Regions from separate parts of the Homo sapiens genome. Here region 2 is linked to region 1. The links are contacts of gene promoters, found by promoter capture Hi-C in blood cells and fetal thymus (Javierre and others, 2016). All regions are on one chromosome and are shown on one strand. The core of a region is centred on a gene start or on the middle of the fragment in contact, and the rest is flanking DNA. Distances in the headings are between cores, read along the strand shown.

Region 1 (3,363 bases), core at 582-3,081:
CATCAAGAAAGAAAGAAGGAAGGAAGGAAGGAAGGAAAGAAAGAAAAATGAATCTTTGGAAAGACGAAAATATCAATGCTTTTATAAACATATTGGGAAAAGTTTTAGTTTTCCATGATTTAATTAAATTCAAAAACTATATATTAATCTCTTTATAGGATTCATATATTACACTTAGCATGGAAGATGAGAAGACATGACCCATTATTACTTTCATATTAAATCTAGTATTTGTTTTTCTCTGAATTTCAAGATGGGAACATGAAGCCTAAAAAGCTTTGTCAAGATCACACCAGACAGTATCAGAACCGGTTCACCAGTGTAACTCAGTTTCTTACAAGTCTTTTCTATTAACCATAATTATAGAGATGAAAGTATATCTATTTTTTATATGTCTGTATTTTGTAATCAATATTGATCTCACTGGTCTTAAAATCAAAGATTGTATAAACATTTTCTTCCACTAATTCAGACAATAAAAATGTCAACATGAGCACCCTGCTTTAAAAACATGATATTCCTGAATTTATTTTGCCTTTACCTCCTTTGTCTGCCTACAAGGTGTATGGCACCTCATTTTATCCTGGAATTGCACTAACAATTTACTAAGAGTTGAATGATCCTCACCGTATCTTATCTATTTCAAAATGTTATGAAATTTGTCGATTCAAAGCCTTAGACATAAAATCTATCTCTTCTAGTTTATAGATGAGAAAATTTATGCCCTGATAAATTAAGTGACTTTTAGTGCTGTTTAGGTTATAGGGATTATAATTATTGCTTCATATCGAACATTTACCAAATTATAAAAATGATAAAAGCATTTTAAATTTACATTTTCCCCTGATCATATCCAATGATGTATTAAACATATTCAGGAAAAACTATGCTTTGAGATGAAATTTTGTCTAAGAAATAAAGTATCCTTTGTATTTATATTATTTTATAATATTATGTTTACAACATCTATATTTTCTTTAAGATTATATTGACTTACAAATATTGTGGTATAAATTATTTTATATTATAAATAACATAATTATACCAAATATTTTTAAATGTGTGCAATAATTTTAAAATTATGAATTATTCAAAAGGCTATTTTGTCAAATATATATACTTATATATTATAAAAGAAACACTCTATACACACACATACACAACCTGAATTTATAACACATACACTCATGTTCTTATGAAGAAGGTAAAGGAAAAAATAAAAGATTTAAAAACTGCAGGATAAAGTTTCTTGATCTAATTAACTGATTAGGAACTGCACTTAGGAACTGATGGAGGAACAGCACCCAATTAGCAGAGCTCCAAATTAAGAAGAGCCAAATCACAAAACCAGTTATGATGAATACAGTTAATTTTTTTTTCTGTGTTGTGCTATGAACACAGATTTGTTAGATTTTTTTTCCTGGATACTTTGTAAGCTATAATTCAACACACACACACACACACACACACACACACACACACACACGCCTAACTCCTTTGATTCTTTGAGCAGAATACTATATTCAGATTTCCTTCAAATCACAAGTAGCTTGTTTGGCAAGTTCTAACAGAACTCAGTCAAGGTGAAAGCCAGCCAGCTTTTTACTGGTAACAATGTATTCACACAGCCTATGATCTCTCTCTGTTCAGGCTGCTTCTTGCTCTTGTCTCACAATAAGAAAGGAGTGCTGCTTTCCTGGGGTATGCTATTTGAGAAAGAAAGTAACCTAACACTAACTGCAGGCGGGGTCAGAGTGATGTAACAGGAAGCTCTGATGTTTCCCTTCTGCTGCTGATCACTTACAATCTGACAACACTTACAATCTACTCAGAACAACCTCTCTCTCTCCAGCAGAGAGTGTCACCTCCTGCTTTAGGACCATCAAGCTCTGCTAACTGAATCTCATCCTAATTGCAGGATCACATTGCAAAGCTTTCACTCTTTCCCACCTTGCTTGTGGGTAAATCTCTTCTGCGGAATCTCAGAAAGTAAAGTTCCATCCTGAGAATATTTCACAAAGAATTTCCTTAAGAGCTGGACTGGGTAAGTGCACATTCAAAATAAATATATTTATTCTAAGTAGTATTCTCATATAGTTTGGCAATGTTTCTATTATAGAATTTAGTAGATAGCACTGAAATAATGTTGAAACATAGTCTCACTTATTTCACATGCTAGAGAAAATACAGCCTACTACCCCAACATGAATACAAAATCTAATACTACTAGATAATATTGTTTACCATGGTATTCTAGAAAATAAATTTAGCAAGTATTAAAAATCTAAATGGATTAAAAGACATATTTCTGAACAAATACCTTAATCACAGAACAATGTCTTTTAAAATTAGCTCTAATATTAGCTAAGCTTGAATCTTGACAACTGGAAAACATTTCTCCCCCCGGAAGGGTCTTTAAACTTTCCATGTTATCAGCTGTAAGAAAGAGGTGAAAGAATAACTACTTAATGGGTCTCGGAGTCTCACTTACTCTGTGGTTGATCATAATGCAGAGTTTTGAAAAGTAATCACTTTGTATTTATTACATTTGCTTTTATTTGCCTTTCACCTTTATTTACACATATATCTGTAACTACTGAACTAATTTTTGTGTTCATTGTTGCCAGATGTGTTTAAATCTCTCTTCTGCTAACCCTGAACTGTTTGCTCTTTATTTGGATCATGGTGTCGGCTACAAAGAAAAAAAAAAACCTAGAGTTTAGGAAATGTAGATTTTTAAAACAATTCTTAATTTTGAAATCTTTAAGAGAATACTTCAACTTGACTGGTTCCCCTCTGCAAGCTTTTGGAGGGGGGTGTGATACCACGATATCTGTGGATAAAGAAACGTGACAGCTTTCCCAAAGAAGTATATTAGACGATTAAACAAAGAAATTAAAGTATTTATTAAAAAAGAATTTCCAGGATGGAACTTACTGAAATGTTGGATAAAACATCTGTTAATGCTCATTCCGATAGTACAGACTGTCCTGAACAATTTAAGAAACTAATGTCTGCTTAATAAATTGTTTGTGTAGATATATCACAAATTTGTTGCTGGAGAAAGTTTGATGTCAAATTTTAAATGATGTTGATAGATATGATTTTTAAGTTATATATTTTCTTACCTAAATGCAATTATACTTTCCAAGATGTCCTGCATTGGAAGCATCCTGTACTTAATCACTTATATCTGGCACATTAATAATAGACTACAAACATCCTGAGTAACTCCTCAGTAATTTACAACTCAATTTTTCCACAAATTCCTCAATATAATGAAAATTTAAATTAATTCTTAGATTTGTGATTCTTTAAGAGTATCATGGCTGATTTCTCTCTCTTTTCAATCTTCAGTTGTAC
Region 2 (3,363 bases), core at 338-2,837, 520 kb after region 1:
TTCGGTATATTTGGTTTGCAATAGCACATTGCAAATAGCATATTAATGTACATTTGCACATTAAAAGGCAAGGTTGGGGGGCCAGTTTTTTCCCAGGCTACATAAATGACATACTTGGTCAGACCAATCTCCTGGACCCTATGCAAATCAGACACCACCTCCTCCAGCTTCCTAATATAACTGGCTGTTCCCCACCCCCCACCCCCACACTTGGGGATCCCTCTCTCTGCTTGGGGCCCACTTCCTTCTGTCTCTGTACAGGGAGCTACTTCCCTCTTTCTTGCCTATGAAACCCACTAATATATAATTAAATTGTATATTTCAAAACATTTTGAAGCATACAAATGACTATAAATTTATAAATAGTAATTTGACAAAATGTTTTACATATAAGTAATTGAAAATATATCATTTTTGAGATAATTCTTTTATGTGAGTCTAGTTAATTAGCTCATTTTCTCTGTTAAACATATATAATGCACAATGTCTTAAGAATGTCTGACTCCTTCCAATTTGTGAACTTTTTTTTTTTTTTTTTTGAGACAGGGTCTCATTCTGTTGCCCAGGCTCGAGTGCAGTGGCACCATCTTGGCTCCCTGCAAACTCCACCTCCCCGGTTCAAGCGATTTTCCTGCCTCGGCTTCCTGAATAACTGGAATTACAGGCACCCACCACCATGCCCAGCTAATTTTTATATTTTTAGTAGAGACGGGGTTTCGCCATGTTGGCCAGGCTGGTCTCAAACTCCTGACCTCAAGTGGTCCACCCGACTCGGCCTCCCAAAGTGCTGGGATTACAGTTGTGAGCCACCATGCCCAGCCCCCAACTTGTAAACTTCTTAAATGCAGGAACTGTATTTTATTAATCTTTGAATCAATATTATCTAGCACCATGGCTAGTTAATTATATATGCTTCATAATTACCTCTTTAAAAATCTTAAAATTGAGAGATGAGTTGAGGGTCTAAATTGCCTTTCAACTTAAAAAAAAAGTGTTTAGTTGAAAGATAATATACCAAAGTCCTGACAAATCTTTTACCTACTACCCCAAATTTGAAGATGTTTTTCTAAACATCATTATATTCCATGTTTTTATCATCTATTTCTTAAATTATTGTAACAGTTTTGTTTCTTTCACCTTGCTTTTAATACTGCAGAAGTTTAGTAACATAATCTCTCACACTGCTCTCAGCTTTTCATTTCCTTGCTCAAGAACCTGTAGTAGCAACCTTTGGCTTTTAAGATAAAGTGTTTATTCCATACCCTAGCATTGAAAGTCCTCTATCAAGAACCCTCTATTCCAAATTTTCCAATTTTAGCTCATTTTAAAACAAAGCCATTATACTCTATTCATATTTACTTTCATATATATATATGTATACATATATATATAATCTTCATACTGCTAATCTGCTTTGTGAGTCTCACCTCCTTACCAAGACAGGTCCATCCAAAAATGTACCCTCACTACTTTCTGCCATTGCAATACTCAGATTTCAGGTACATAGGTCTACTAAACAGCAAACATCTGGAAATTATGATTTCTTGCCTTGTATCAATTCAGTTCAAATATTTAGGAGGCCCCAATATTTCAAGGATAGGCATTGGGTTCTACAGAATATACAAAAATAAGTATATGACAATTGTAGCAGTTAAAGCCTACTTACAATATAATAGACACACTCACACACAATATTTTAATGAAAAGTTAAATTGTAGTACAAATAAAAATCAAAAAAGCTATGTAGAATAGTAATCAGTAGTATAACATGAAAAATAAGAGCAGTCAATAATTTTTAAAGTATGCTCAGTGAGCCATCAACATCAGAAACACTTGGTGTACTTATTAAAATTCAGATTCTAAGACCCCAGTAACACCTGCTAGGGATGGGTTGCCATGAAATCTGTTTTCTGTTTGTTTGTTTGTTTGTTTCCTCAAGCCCTTCAGATGATTTTGACATGCACTACAGTTTGAAAATCACTTGCTTAAACTTTGTAATCAGACAGACCTAGGCTTGAAAATTTATGATTTATTATAAAATTCTTGGACACACACAACCAGTGGGTTCCATCACTTGGCAACTGACAGTCCAATGACCACAACCAGGGTGGATTTCACAAGGGGATTCACTACTTGTAAGGAGGATGCCCAGGATAGTTCCTAAAGCAGTGCCTTACGATGGCGAACATAGGGTTGTGGTTTTTTTTGTTTTTGTTTTTGTTTTTGAGATGGAGTCTCGCTCTGTCACCCAGGCTGGATTGCAGTGGCGCACTCTTGGCTCACTGCAAGCTCTGCCTCCCGGGTTCACACCATTCTTCTGCCTCAGCCTCCCGAGTAGCTAGGACTACAGGTGCCCACCACCACGCCCGGCTAATTTTGTGTGTGTGTGTTTTTAGTGGAGACAGGGTTTCACCGTGCTAGCCAGGATGGTCTTGATCTCCTGACCTCGTGATCCACCTGCCTCGGCATCCCAAAGTGCTGGGATTACAGGCGTGAGCCTCCATGCTGGGCCAACATAGAGTTTTTAATTGGGCTGTTTTGCTGGGTCTTTTTTTTTTTATTTTTTATTATACTTTAAGTTTTAGGGTACATGTGCACATTGTGCAGGTTAGTTACATATGTATGCATGTGCCATGCTGGTGCGCTGCACCCACTAACTCATCATCTAGCATTAGGTATATCTCCCGATGCTACCCCTCCCCCTCTCCCCCCACCCCACAACAGTCCCCAGAGTGTGATATTCCCCTTCCTGTGTCCATGTGATCTCATTGTTCAATTCCCACCTATGAGTGAGAATATGCGGTGTTTGGTTTTTTGTTCTTGCGATAGTTTACTGAGAATGATGATTTCCACTTTCATCCATGTCCCTACAAAGGACATGAACTCATCATTTTTTATGGCTGCATAGTATTCCATGGTGTATATGTGCCACATTTTCTTAATCCAGTCTATCATTGTTGGACATTTGGGTTGGTTCCAAGTCTTTGCTATTGTGAATAATGCCACAATAAACATACATGTGCATGTGTCTTTATAGCAGCATGATTTATAGTCCTTTGGGTATATACCCAGTAATGGGATGGCTGGGTCAAATGGTATTTCCAGTTCTAGATCCCTGAGGAATTGCCACACTGACTTCCACAATGGTTGAACTAGTTTACAGTCCCACCAACAGTGTAAAAGTGTTCCTATTTCTCCACATCCTCTCCAGCACCTGTTGTTTCCTGACTTTTTAATGATTGCCATTCTAACTGGTGTGAGATGGTATCTCATTGTGGTTTTGATTTGCATTTCTCTGATGACCAGTGATGATGAGCATTTTTTCATGTGTATGCTGGGTCATTTTTATGTAGATGTGGAGTA

Evidence for each region. The method cuts DNA at HindIII sites, captures the fragments that hold promoters and counts their contacts. A CHiCAGO score of 5 or more calls a contact.
Region 2: a fragment that was not itself captured here is called in contact with the fragment with the promoter of CALCRL in region 1 in 4 of 17 cell types (megakaryocytes, erythroblasts, M0 macrophages and 1 more); the score reaches 8.1 in megakaryocytes.

The regions. Positions count from the first base shown.
Region 1 is chr2:187,446,720-187,450,082 of GRCh38, reverse strand. It overlaps CALCRL (calcitonin receptor like receptor), which reads left to right and starts at 1,831. Exons shown (of 15, transcript NM_005795.6): 1 at 1,831-2,044. All of the region lies in intron 2 of CALCRL-AS1 (CALCRL and TFPI antisense RNA 1), which reads right to left. The HindIII fragment of the contact is 1,657 bases long and covers 279-1,935 here.
Region 2 is chr2:186,922,543-186,925,905 of GRCh38, reverse strand. No RefSeq gene overlaps it. Among named protein-coding and RNA genes, the nearest start is that of ZSWIM2, 75 kb to the right of the region's middle. The HindIII fragment of the contact is 8,964 bases long and covers 1-3,363 here.